Linked DNA regions of Homo sapiens: regions 2, 3, 4 and 5 are each linked to region 1. Evidence: promoter capture Hi-C in human tissues and cell types (Jung and others, 2019). All regions are on one chromosome and are shown on one strand. The core of a region is centred on a gene start or on the middle of the fragment in contact, and the rest is flanking DNA. Distances in the headings are between cores, read along the strand shown. Region 1 holds the start of PPFIBP1 (PPFIB scaffold protein 1). Region 2 overlaps STK38L (serine/threonine kinase 38 like). Region 3 overlaps BMAL2 (basic helix-loop-helix ARNT like 2). Region 4 overlaps BMAL2 (basic helix-loop-helix ARNT like 2). Region 5 overlaps BMAL2 (basic helix-loop-helix ARNT like 2).

What was found. Contacts are between HindIII fragments. The study calls those that stand out against the background at their distance.
Region 2: a contact is called between a fragment that was not itself captured here and the fragment with the promoter of PPFIBP1 in region 1, in 2 of the 25 tissues and cell types used here (aorta and psoas muscle).
Region 3: a contact is called between a fragment that was not itself captured here and the fragment with the promoter of PPFIBP1 in region 1, in 2 of the 25 tissues and cell types used here (adrenal gland and aorta).
Region 4: a contact is called between a fragment that was not itself captured here and the fragment with the promoter of PPFIBP1 in region 1, in 1 of the 25 tissues and cell types used here (mesenchymal stem cells).
Region 5: a fragment that was not itself captured here is called in contact with the fragment with the promoter of PPFIBP1 in region 1 in 4 of the 25 tissues and cell types used here (H1 embryonic stem cells, IMR-90 fibroblasts, aorta and 1 more).

What each region holds. Positions count from the first base shown.
Region 1 is chr12:27,522,825-27,525,500 of GRCh38, reverse strand. PPFIBP1 (PPFIB scaffold protein 1) reads right to left here and starts at 1,295. Exons shown (of 30, transcript NM_003622.4): 1 at 1,136-1,295. RefSeq lists enhancers at 673-1,273, 1,520-1,979, 1,877-2,478. The HindIII fragment of the contact is 12,160 bases long and covers 1-2,676 here.
Region 2 is chr12:27,299,636-27,302,311 of GRCh38, reverse strand. It overlaps STK38L (serine/threonine kinase 38 like), which reads right to left. Exons shown (of 14, transcript NM_015000.4): 3 at 124-175. Among named protein-coding and RNA genes, the nearest start is that of BMAL2, 32 kb to the left of the region's middle. The HindIII fragment of the contact is 6,379 bases long and covers 1-2,676 here.
Region 3 is chr12:27,334,554-27,337,229 of GRCh38, reverse strand. The region is part of intron 1 of BMAL2 (basic helix-loop-helix ARNT like 2); the gene reads right to left. Among named protein-coding and RNA genes, the nearest start is that of BMAL2, 3.1 kb to the right of the region's middle. The HindIII fragment of the contact is 3,428 bases long and covers 1-2,676 here.
Region 4 is chr12:27,363,544-27,366,219 of GRCh38, reverse strand. The region is part of intron 1 of BMAL2 (basic helix-loop-helix ARNT like 2); the gene reads right to left. Among named protein-coding and RNA genes, the nearest start is that of BMAL2, 32 kb to the right of the region's middle. The HindIII fragment of the contact is 3,246 bases long and covers 1-2,676 here.
Region 5 is chr12:27,380,569-27,383,244 of GRCh38, reverse strand. The region is part of intron 5 of BMAL2 (basic helix-loop-helix ARNT like 2); the gene reads right to left. Among named protein-coding and RNA genes, the nearest start is that of BMAL2, 49 kb to the right of the region's middle. The HindIII fragment of the contact is 4,087 bases long and covers 1-2,676 here.

The DNA.
Region 1 (2,676 bases), core at 46-2,545:
AAAGAGAGCCTTAAAGCACTGATGAGAGGGTCCTGAATCGGTGTATGGAGTCAATTTCCCCGCCCCCTCGAGAAAGTCAATCACACCCAGTTAGTGACCTGGGCACACAAAATCTCCACATAGGAAAAAGACAGGGTTTGAAATAGGAAATAAACAAAAATCAGAATTCTATTCTTTCACTTCTTAAAAGTATCTTTTTCCTCCCGCAATTGCTTTCTCAAAATACCAAACTTGGACTTTGAAATCAAGTTCTTTTTCTATTGCTCTCCGCAGTTCTTACTGAAAGCAAGGATTTGTTTTGGTCCCACATGTTGAAAACTTCACGTCCCTATAATTAAGAGTTTATATGCCACGCCTTCCACCGCGTTTCCCTGTTAAAACTCCCTTCTCTAAAAAAGATCCCTGAAAACACAACTACCAGCTCGCCCCTCAAGCAGCCACAGGAAACAGATCTGAAGATTCTCAGCAGCCATCCTAACCTCTCCAGATATAAAGCTGGCAGCTGAAGGGATTTCTCGGTTAAAATGAGTGAATACTAGTTGCAGTTTTAGAAGTGTGCCCCCAAGAGACGAGTTTTCCCGCAAGCTCATAATTAATAAACACCCCAAGTGAATTTCTCACATCCTGACTGGATTACACAAAAGGATATTTTACATTGATATATAAGACTAACATTGATATTCTTTTAATATATAATAGGCCACAAGGAGACAAAAAAATACAAAACTTTTTTTTTCTTTTCAACGAGCATAATTTTTGAGTCGATGATCCATAATTTTTTGTGGCATTTTTAAATGCCTCAATACACACAGACAGAGAGACACACACGCCCCTCTGGTTGGGGTTCTCAGGTATTACCGGGAGCCTAGGGTGTGGGGGTCTAAGGATACAGACAAGACCTAAACGTCCAATCCTGGAGTATTCTTCACGTACAAGCTCGGTCCAAGCCCCAGGAGTTAAGCCCTACCCCTCCACCCCCACCACCCCCAAAAAGTGCCCGTTCCCATTGGGAAACAGGAGTGAGTTGCACAAGGAAATCGACCCGGGGAAGAGGAGGAGCAGCTGCAACAGCCAGCTGCAGCCACACAACGGTGCCACTTCCCTCCCGTCTGGGAGTGGAGCAAAACGCCCTTACCTGGGGGGTGGAGAGCCGCCGGCACTAGTTCCAAAAGTTCTGGTCCACCTCCTCTCGGAGTTCAAAGCCCCAGCACTCCGGCCCGGCCGCCAGCTCGCAGCACACGAGTCCTTCCCCGTCCTTTCCCCACCCTGCCTGCACTACACCATGTCAGGAATCCGGGCAGGCACCGAGCTGGGAGCTGACATCACTCCCAGTTCCAGGTACCTCCCCCTCCCACTGCCGCCCTTCTCTCCTCCCTCCCTGCAGGAATCAGCCAAAGAGAGTCAGCAGTGGGGCGGGGCCGGGGGCGCCTGCGCGCCCGCTGATTGGAGCCGGGGAACGTCACTCAGAGGAGTCCACTAATTTTATGCATTCCTCGCTGAGCCAGACTAGGGCTGGAAGTGGGTGGATGGAAGAAAATGCTGCCCTTCCTGCTATCTCTAAGGAACGGAGATAATCCGATGGGGAAGAACCTGGCGGGTCGAGTTTTAAACTTTTCTTGTTGTAGTTACTGAGATTCCAGATCAGAAACGAAACTAACCCACGCGAACCCCCTTTTTAAGGAGAAACAATTGCCTCGGTGTCACAGGCACACGGGCATGTACAAGCCCGGCGGCGCGTGGTGTAGAAAATGGCTAGCTTTAAGCCATGCAAATAAAGGAAAACGTCAGCTCACCCTTCTGCCCTTTTATCCTGGGACTGCTGGGTGTTCCCTTAGACGGGGAATGTAGAACTTCAAAAGCACTTCAGAAAGATTTGGAAGAGACTCCTGAAAACGGTGACCGAGCTTTGAATTGTTAAGTGGTGGTGTTGTCAGCCATGTGGCTGCTGTTGCTTTTAGCGATGAAAATCACACCACACAAGCTTCTCGGGCAAGTAAAATTGAATCTCTGAAGCAAGAAAAATGTATTTCCCCGTTTAAAGACCTTAAGGCTGCTGTTTCAATGCACACACTGAAAAGGGTGGAGGAAGGAGGGACCTCACAATTGAGTTCCACAAACCACATGAGAATAATTACTGTAGAATGGAACCAATTGTAGTGGCTGAGCTCTCAATTAAGAATTAACTAACGTTTATCCTTGACAGATATCATGCGGTATAATCCCCTTGGCTGACAGAAGAAAAAGATTCTCAGAAAATGGTTCTTTCAAGGCAGATGCTGCTTACAGGCAGACCTGAATGGTGAAAAGCAGCTTTATTTGTATGAGATATAGGTAGCATATAACCCACCATCTTCTAAAAATATAGTGAATTAATAACTTTCTCTTTTTTTTCTTCTTTTTTTAAACAGGTCACTCTGCCACCCAGGCTGGAGTGCAGTGGCATGATCTGGCTCACTGCAACCTCCTTCTCCTGGGTTCAAGTGATTCTACTGCCTCAGCCTCCGAGTAGCTGAGACTACAGGCGCCCACCACCACACCCGGCTGATTTTTGTATTTTCAGTAGAGACGGGGTTTCCGCCATATTGGCCAGACTGGTCTCGAAATCCTGACCTCAGGTGATCCACCCTCTTCGGCCTCCCAAACTGCTGGGATTACAGGCGTGAGCCACCACACCAG
Region 2 (2,676 bases), core at 59-2,558, 220 kb after region 1:
AACAAAGAAGCCCATATTCAAATGATAAAATCCACATTATTTAAGTTATAAAATACCTGATGTCAAATGAATGAAAAGTCACTGGGGGTGCTTTTGTACAGTAATTATAGGTAATTACATTACCTCTTCATCTGCTAATCCTTCTTCTTCCATGGCCACTTCTAATTTCTTCTGCCTTTTCAAAGGAAAAAAAAATTAAATTTTAAATACATTCCTAACTATTTCCACTTAAGAAATATACATTTATTTATTCAGGTTAACCACTTCAGCTTGCTAGGCTAAAAAAAAAAAAACTTTCAAGTTGGATCAACATAATCACTAAGAATAGTTTTCTTTCTCAAAAAACAAACCCAGATTTTGCTTTCTCATACTGGCCAAATGAATAATTTACTTCTAAGGCTTACTTCACGCTCCTGCCTAAATGAAATGTTGGCAATGACTGATGTTCTAATATGGAAAACTCTGCTACTTAATGTTCAATCTACCAATATCATTAATATTTCCCAATGCTTATATTAGAAATATAAAAAGATAACTATACTGACTAAAAGTATAAAATTTTAAGGTAAATATCCCTGGTTCTAACACTTATTAGCTAAATGAGCTTGGCTAAGTCCCTCACTGAAACTCTAAGCTCAGTTTTCCTTAACTTATGAAGGAAAAATGTTCAATGCAATTGCATTTATTTTATTGTATTAAAATTATTTGAAAATTGGAAAGTCATATATGTGTGTTTTTAAAAACCCACCAGCGGCCGGGTGCGGTGGCTCACGCCTGTAATCCTAGCACTTTGGGAGGCCGAGGTGGGCGGATCACGAGGTCAGGAGATCGAGACCATCTTGGCTAACACTGTGAAACCCCGTGTCTACTAAAAATACAAAAAAAATTAGCCGAGCATGGTGGCTGGCGCCTGTAGTCCCAGTTACTTGGGAGGCTGAGGCAGGAGAATTGCTTGAACCTGGGAGGCGGAGGTTGCAGTGAGCCAAGATCGTGCCACTGCACTCCAGCATGGGCGACAGAGTGAGACTCTGTCTCTAAATAAATAAATATTTTTTAAAAACCCACTAGCTACCAGAACATTTGCTTTTCTAGGTACAGCCAGGTTCAGTTATTCATTTTTTTTAAACAGCACCCTTGAAGTTAGTTAAGCTGAGCATCTGGGGTAAGGGCAGTGTGGATGAAGTAACTAAAACTAGAGAGATGGTTGTGGAACACATTTTGCAACTCATTTCCAAGTGAGTATTAGTATTTTATTTCTATTGTATTGGTTTTCCCTAAATATAAACCTAGCAGAACTCCTCCTAATTAGTTCTGGAGTGTGTCAGAATAACAGTAACTTTTCAGGATTTAACTGAATGGGTATAAGGGTTAAGGATTGAAACCCTCCCACAACTTTTTGATATTTCTTATTCATGGCTACATGTCCAAAGGTAAGCTTTTTTACTAAACCATCATTAAGATCACTTAGTTTTCCTTCTTATAGAAGATTTGTAACATTTAAAGCCTGTTGATACATCAGCACCCCACTGGAGAGGATGAGGCCTAAGAGCATATTCTCCAACACATGTTTCCTCAGTGCTTGTCATAGGCACCTACCTTGGTGCTTATTACACTGATTTTTGTCTTTTGTTTATGCATTATTTCCCCTAGGCCCCAACCCTTAGACAAGAATAATCTCCTAACATCAGATTCTGTGCTGCCATCACCTACCCCTAGGCACTTCAGTGCTGCTTGTTGAATGATTTCCAGTTTTCTCCTCTGCAGAAAGAATCCAGAGAGTAAGAGGACCATTATTCTGGGAGGAGCTATAACATATAAACAACTTTATTCTTCTGTCAAATTTCCACTGTCCCTTTCCTCAGTTATTGCCAAGACTAACACTTCATGAAATCATTCCTCATTCTGGAAGAGATACAGTAACTTTTATCCATTTCTACCATATCTAAACAGGAAGATCCATGATTTCTGTTGTACCTTTTTTAAAAATAGTTTTCCACCTAAAATGCTCTTATGCTTTGCTCTGATTAGAAATTTATTGGGCTTATGCATTTATCCAATTAGTTAAGCCTTAAAAATACATCACATTTTCTTAAAAGTATAAGCTTTTAGAAAATATGAGCAGATTGTTCGACTTGACATACAGTGGCACCAAGCTGAGACTACTTTTTTTTTCAATAACACAGATAATTTTATTGTTACTTTCCTTTATTTGGAAAAAGAAAGCAAACTGAATTACTTTAACACTGCAGCAAGTAAAGACAATGAACCTTCGAAATTCTGATGAATTTTTTTAAGTGCCTGCTTTTTCTTCCTTGGTTCTCTTCTACTTTATTCACTCTCCCAGGATGGTCTGATCACTTCCAGAGACTTTAATTACCCTTGTAATTCATTTAATTATTGATATATTTAGATTTTTATTTCTAACTTATTTTGTGCTATTTTGGTATTTCATTTTTACCATTTTTGGTATTTCAGTTTTTCTTTCTCTCTTGCATTCTTTTTGAACTGACTTTTTTTTTCTCATTCCAATTTTTTCCTTCTACTAGTCTGGAAATTACAAACTCTATTTTTATCATTTTATGGTTACTCTAGAACTTACAACATAATTTGTCAAACTCTGAAGCTAATCTCTATGCCCTTTCTACTAAGATCATTAAGAACACCTTAATTCTAATT
Region 3 (2,676 bases), core at 71-2,570, 190 kb after region 1:
AATGCAAAGCATAGAGTGGAAGAATGATTCTCTTTACATTTCCTTTTCCTTTAGACTTCTTTGTTTTTAATCTCGCTGTAATGGTACCATCTAGAGATTTAAACCATAAGATTAAAGACTAGAGAAATGAAATACAAATAATTTAGCTACATAAATGTCAAATTTCCTATCATGCCAACCATTTAAGTATTTTCAGGTGAGAATGTTAACACTGTATAACTGAACTGATTTTAAGAAGTTTTAAGGAAGTTTAAAATACTTTTTTTTTTTTTTTTTTTTTTTGAGACAGTCTCGCTCTGTCACCCAGGCTGGAGTGCAGTGGAATGATCTCGACTCACTACAACCTCTGCCTCCCAGGTTCAAGTGATTCTCCCACCTCAGCCTCCTGAGCTGGGATTACAGGCACGCACCACCAACGCCGGACTAATTTTTGTATTTTTTAGTAGAGACAGGGTTTCACCATGTTGGCCAGGCTGGTTTCAAACTCCTGACCTCAGGTGATCCACCTGCCATAGCCTCCCAAAGTGCTGGGATTACAGGCGTGAGCCACCGCGCCCAGCCAGGTTTAAAAATATTTTAAGTTAAAAAATTGGGTGGGTAAATGGGATATTATAGCCTAGTGTGATACAATGTAAACAGTATGTGTCAGGGACCAGTAAGTGTGACAGCACCTGAGTAAGAGAAGGAAACAGGGTGCGGCAGGGCATACATAGCTAAGTATTGCATAAATTATCAGTAAATATCTAGAAATACTACACGCTACTACAGAGAACATATCTCACCTGCAGTCCTAGCTCCAATAAGGGCTTACACTGAAGGCTCTTAGTTCCCACTGGCTCCTGCCACTGGGAAGGGGTGAGGCACTGGGCAAGGCAGGGGCTACAGAGGGCTGGGATGCTGAGAACCAGGGGAGCCACTACAGGTAGTAACCTTGCAAAAACCAGGGCAGGAAATCACTGTCTCACAGAACAGGCGGATGTCTCAGGTGCCCTTGCCTCCTGTAGGGCACATGGCACACTCTGAGGTCCCTGAAAATGCTTATGACCATGATGATGCTGACTAATGACCCAGACCCCAAGCACCCGAGTAACTCAGTTGTCAATGCAGAGAAGTGGAGGTCTTCAATTAAATGAGACAACTGAAAACTAGGGCTACCAGAATGAATTGTTATTTGCTCATTTATGATTTCCTGAACATGACACAAATGGAGATTTCAAAAGGATGCTACCTCAATGTTCACAGCACAGAACATCATGCTTTTTAGAACTAGGGAGTCATTTCACAAGGACAAAGTAAACTGAAATCACTGTATTCTCCTACTGATATTTTGGCTTTCCCTATATATTTTAAACGTTAGTTTTTGTTTTTCCTGGAGTCAAACTTTGATGGAGTGGCAGTCCCTCCCCTCCTCCCCTTCTCCTTCCTTCACTCTCTCCTTCCTCCTCCTTTCCCCTCTCCTCCTCTCTTTACTTCACACCTCCTCTCTTGCCTTCTCCCTCCTCTCACTCTTTCTCTCTTTCCTTCTCTATTTTCCTCCCCCTTAAATATGTGAAAAGTAATTAGCCCATCCTGGTTTATCTTGAATAATGCATTTCTGGCTGAAATTTTGCCCAAGGATCCATGCCAGTAACAGGAGCTTAGGCAAAATTGATTGGGACATGACGTTTGATTTCTGACTCACAAAGTAAATTTAAACCACTGTAATTGCAGAACTACATGTAAAAGAATTGGATCTTACACTATCATAGGTGAAAACATGAGCTGGTAAGAAAACGGAAGGTGAGAAAGCTGCCCCACAGAGGCCTCAACCCCAGACCATCTCTGGCAGTGAGTCTTGGAAATGTGCTGCTCCCCAAGACTGCCCTCTTCCTACCCCAAGGATTCTGGAATCATTTATTAGGAGGACACCCAGTCACTTGGCAGCATGCTCAATTTCGGTGTTTACCATCTAAAACTGATGGGGTGGGGAAACCCATAGTTTGGTTTACACTGTTAAAAAAACACAAAACAAAACAAAACAAAACAAAGCAAAACAAAACCTTAGGGCTAGTTTTGTAGATGGCCACCAACTGGCCCAGAGGCCTGTTTTTGTTTTCCCTCTGGGAATAGGGAGAAATAGTAAAAATACATATACATTTTTTCCTCCTAGAGGTTTCGTTGAGCGTTCTATTTTTTACTACTCTTTAGATAAGCAGGTGTCTGGAAGTGAGCACACTTGCTCATTAGCACCACCAAGTCAGATGGGAAAGAAAAGAAAGGAGTATGGGCGACAGCCATGGATTTTAACTCTAGTTCTGTCATGTCCTGGCTGTATAACTGTGAGCCAGCCTCAGTTTTCTCATCTGTGAAATGGAGATACTACCTACCTCACAACGCTGTTGTAAGACTAACAGAAGCACCCCTGTGAAATGTCTGTGACATCTTAGGTACTCATACCTGCGGGCTCTCCCAGCCCGCACAGAAACATTGCTACCCTTAATTAAGAAAATTTAATTTTTATTATTCCCAGCTTTACATTTGGTATGCAAAGAGCAATAAACTATTAATCTAAAATAGTTAGATAAATAGCATTAAACTTTATCTAAAAGCTTGTTGTAAGTTCGTAAGACTTATCTGGGGAATTAGTAGGTGCATTTTCTTTGAATTAGTAGGTGCATTTTCACTTCCTTTCAGTTT
Region 4 (2,676 bases), core at 60-2,559, 160 kb after region 1:
GGACCAAAAACCAGTCTCAAAGATTTTGACAAATTGATATCATACATAAAACATTTTCTGACTTCAGTGTAATTGTGTTGGAAGCCAGGAACAAAAAGATAACCAGAAAATCCCTATATCTTTGTAAATTAAGAAACCCACAAATAATTCATGGGGCAAGAGGAAATTCAAATGTAAAATGACAAAATATTTGTAATTAAGTATTAATAAAAATGTCACACAATGCATAAGCATTACTTAGCATGAAATTTTAACAATGTTTAAAAAAAGAAAAATTGAAATATAATAAGTAAATAATTTAAGAAATCAGAAAAAGATCAGTAAAATAAATCCAAAGAACTAGAAGAAAGAAAATCATAAGACCAGAAATAATGAAATAGAATATAAACATATAAGAGTGTAGATTTAAAAAGCTAAACAAAGTTTCTTCCAGATGATTGTAAACTCTAACAACTTTATGGCAAGATTTTTCAAAGAAAAAAATGTACAAAAAAAAAATTTGGGGTCATAATTGAGATGCCCTAGAAATTTAAAAGATAATAAAATACCATTAAAAATCATGCTAAATATTTAAAAATTTAGATGGAATGAAACATTTTCTATAGAATTTTAACTTACCGAAATTGAAACAAAAATAAATAAAAACCTGAATATTCCTATATTCTTCCTTACACAAACTATTCCACTATATGAAAAAAAGAGGGACTACCCTGACCCCCAACTTTTCTTTGTCAAGGAGGCTTACATAATTTTGATATTAAAACCTGACAAGGACAGTACAAAAGGAAAATTACAGGCCAATCTCATTCACAAACAAAAATACAAAAATCTTAACAAAACATTATCAAACAAAATTCAGAAATGAATAAAAATAATCATCCATCATGACTAAGTTTCATCCTAGGGATGCAGGAGTGCCTTCATATTAGTAATTAATGAATATAATTTACCACAATAACAGATAAATGAAAAACTATACAATCATCTCAGGAAATGTAGAAATATTAGTGAAGAAATATTGAAAGTGTTCTTTTTAAGATCAGAAACAAGAACACCCTTAATTCTATATTAGAAGAGCTCACAGTAGGGTAAGGCAAGAAAAAGGAAAATGAAATATAAAATTAAGAAATAAAATTGTTTTGCTCTTATTGGGAAATGATATGATTGACTACATAGAAAATCCAAAATAATCAACATATAAATCATTAAAGTTAGAGGATATAGCAAGTTGGCTGTATATAAATCAATATGTAAAAATCAATTGCCTTTCTATCCAAAGTAACAAATAGTAAGACAATGATATTTAAAAGATAGAATTTATAATAATCTCAAAAATACAGAGTATCTAAAGAATAAATCTAATAAATGTATAAGGTCTTTAGGGAAAAACTAAAACTTTATTTAAAACATTTTAAAAGATCCAAACAAATGGAAAGATATGCCAGGCTTTTGAATTGGAGGCTTCAATATACTAAAGATGTAAATTATCCTAAAATAGATGTGTAATTCCTCTCAAAATACATAATTTTTTGGTGGAAGCTTTCAAGTGGAATATACAACTATGTGAACAGTATACAGAAGAACAATGGGTCATGAATAACCAAGCAAAAGGTGGGAAGACTGGTCCTATCAGATATCAAGACTTGTAAAGACACAGTAATTAAGACAGTGTAGTACTGGTATGAGGATAGACAGATGAATGGAAGAGAACAAAGAGCCCAGACATGTATATATGGACATCTGCTAAATATCAAAGGTGGTAAAAGATCAATGTGGGGAAAAAAAATAACTTTTTAATAAATGGTCCGGGATCAATTGGTTTTCTCTATGGAAAAGATGAAACGGGACTCCCTGTGTTACACCAAATACAAAAACAAATCCAGTTGGATTTGAGACCTAAATTTAAAAAATAAAAACAGAATACAGAAAACTTTTGCTATGGTTTGAATGTTTGTGTTCCTCCGAAATTCATGTGGAAACTTAATTCCCAGTTCAACAATATTAAAAGGTGGGGCCACTAGGAGGTGATTAGGTCATGCATGCTCCACCCTCATAGACAGGATTAGTGCCACCGTAAAAGGGCTGAGAGGACAAGTTTGTCCCGTCCATTCCTTTGCCTCTTCTGCCAAGTGAGGATGCAGCAAGAAGATACCATCGTAGAAGCAGATGGAGCAGCCCTCACCAGACAATGAAGTTGCCCGTGCCTTGATCTTGGACTTCCCAGCCTCTAGAATTGTCAGAAATAACTACCTGTTGTTTTAAATTACCCAGCCTAAGGTGTTTTGTTATAGCAGCATCAATGGACTAAGAAAACTCTAAAGGAGGGAGAGTATTTTTATTTCATAGAAAGAAATTCCCAAGACATAAAATGTAAAAACAATAAAGGAAAAGATTGTTAAATGTGACAATCTTTAAGTTAATGTTGATTGAAAGACACTACAAAGAAAATGAAACCACAAGCCACAAACTGGGAAAAGATATTTGTTAGACATATAAACAACAAAGGGTTAATATTCAGATTATATAAAGAATGGCTTTGAATCAATAAGAAAAAGACCAATGACTCTCAATAGAAAACTGGATAAAATAACTTGAATAGGCACTTCATAAAAGAAATTCCAGTTGTCAACACATGGATGAAAAGATACTCAATCTCATTGGTAACCAGGAAAATCC
Region 5 (2,676 bases), core at 87-2,586, 140 kb after region 1:
CAGGAGGCAAATGCATCCCTATCTCACAGATGTGAAAACTGAGGATTAGAATGTCAAATAACTTGAGTAAGTCACATAGCTATAAAGGGAGGAAGCCAGGATTTGAACCACAAGGTCTGCCTTCAGGACGCATGCGTGTGAACCACTGTGCTTCACTGCCCCGCCTGGTAATCAGATTGCAGACACAGGACCTCATGCTGCAGAGCAGGGCTACTCTAAATGTGGTCTGCAGACCAATGTCATCAGCAAACTGTGGTGAGATCAAGTGCAGAATTTAAGAAGTATTTAGAGGCTTTTATAAAAACATAACATTGCTGTGACAGCCAAACCCATGATCATTTTTCCATAATTAACTGTATTTTACAATGAACTAGTGGTGGATGGGGGGAACACCTGTTCTTCATCCAGATCGTTTAAAAAGCACTGCTGTAGAGTATAGTGAAAAAAATCACATCACCATCCTTCTGCCTTTAACCTAATTATGCTATGGACCAAAATAACATGATCCACAGGCAGCCCTCTGTTGATCTGGCTTCTAAGTTTTTGCCGAGCAAGTGTGGGGATGCTGTGACAATACCCTGGAATGCAGATCCAGTTGCCTTAAATCATCTTGCTTGTGAGCAGCACTGACCGAAGGATCTGGTCAGACTGCGGGGATGAGTACTTAACCATGTCACTTCTGTTCAGCAGAGCTGAGGCAAAATCTACGCCCTGTTCCAAGGAATCTCCTCTGGACTCACCTCCTCCCTGCTGAGCTTTCACAGCCTCCCCTCTCACTCGAACCACTGCTGTAACATTCATCGCACCAGACTCTGACGATCTCTTCCTAAGTCAGTCTTCCTAGTCAGACCACAAACCCTTAAAGGGCAGAGATCTTGCCTCATTAATTTTTATATTCTCAGCACAGAACAGGAATGCGGTTGATGCTCAGATCATGTTTTGTTGAACTAGTCGACTGATTCATGGCTTTTCCCTTAGGTCTTCCTCCCTTAGGACACTGCTAATGTGAAAATACTCAGCTAATTTCAGGGTTGCAATCAAATGACCTCAGTTGAGCCTGTAAATTTTCATTGCTGAAGGATTTAAGGAAAATATTGCAAGCCTCAGCTGTGGGTAAAAGAGAAGCTTATTTCACAACAGACTGTTATGAAAATAAGATCTCCCATCATGCTCCCAACAGGAAGCACCAGGAGTCTAGGTGAGTGCTGCTCTCCTCTTAGCCACCTTAACTTGACTTGACCATACCTTGCATGGTGCCCAGATAATTTCCATTACCCTGAAATATATTTTCCTTTTCCTGGCAGTGTTTGAGATCTAAACTAAGACCCTTGGTCATCCTTTGCTCACTCCCTTTTTATGATTTTTGAGCCAAATTTCACTATAATCTTCTAGATCTTTACAAATCTGAACTTGCAGAGTCTCCTCTGGAGTCTTCAGCTTGCTGCTTGGCCAGGTCTTATCTTTTCAGTGCAAATTTACATCATCGGCATTGGTAAATCGAAAACTCTATTCCACTTCACCCAAGTTGGACTGGGGCTATTCCCAAAACAGGGGTGATTTCTACCGCACATGTTGACATGGTTTGGCTCTGTGTCCCCGCCCAAATCTCATGTCGAATAATAATCCCCAGTGCTGGAGGTGGGGCCTGGTGGGAGGTGACTGGATCATGCTTGTGGATTTTCCCCTTGATACTGTGTCACAATAGTGAGTTCTCATGAGATCTGGTTGTTGAAAGTGTGTGGCACCTCCCCTACCCTCTCTTGGTCCTGCTCCTGCCATGTAAGATGCCGGCTCCCACTTTGCCTTCTGCCATGAGTGAAAGCTCCCTGAGGCCTCCCCAGAAGCAGAAGCCACCATGCTTCCTGCACAGCCTGTGGAACCGGGAGCCAATTAAACTTCTTTTCATTATAAATTACCCAGTCTCAGGTATTCCTTCATAGCAATGCAAGAATGGACTAATACACAGGTACACATATACATTTATTACACTTTGATTTAAAATTCAAGCTCAAGTTGGGGAATTGCTAAAGCCAGAAATGATCACCCACACACCAAGAGGCAGTGGCAAGGACCTCCTTCCCCCAGTGTCTCACATATTTGAGGATACTCTGAATGGCAACATGTGATGCATTATAAGGTACTACTCGTAAATCTGAATGAAGCTTTAAGAGAAACTGCAGAGTTTAAGGAAGTTTTCTTTTTGAAGGATAGAAATCTCTCAATAACTTAATAATTAATACTATACTTCAGAACTTTTTTTTTTTTCTGAGACAGGCTGTCACCCAGGCTGGAGTGCAGTGGCATGATTACTGCTCACTGCAACCTCCACCTCCCAGGCTCAAGCGATCCTCCCACCTCAGCCTCCCAGGTAGCTGGGACTACAAGCACGCAAGACCACACTTGGCTAATTTTTGCATTTTTTTGCCCAGGCTTGTTTCGAAATCTGGACTCAAGCCATCCGCCCACCTCAGCCTCCCAAAGTACGGGGATTACAAGCATGAGCCACCACGCCCAGCTCAACTTCAGAACTTCTAAAGAATTGAGAGGTATGAAAGGCAGGTGATATTCTCTTCATAATATATGTGAAGAAGAAATGTAAATACCTTTCAAGGTTGTATAGTGAGCTTGAGAAAAAGCTTTTATCAGAACCAAGTTTTCTGACATCCAATTCAGTAT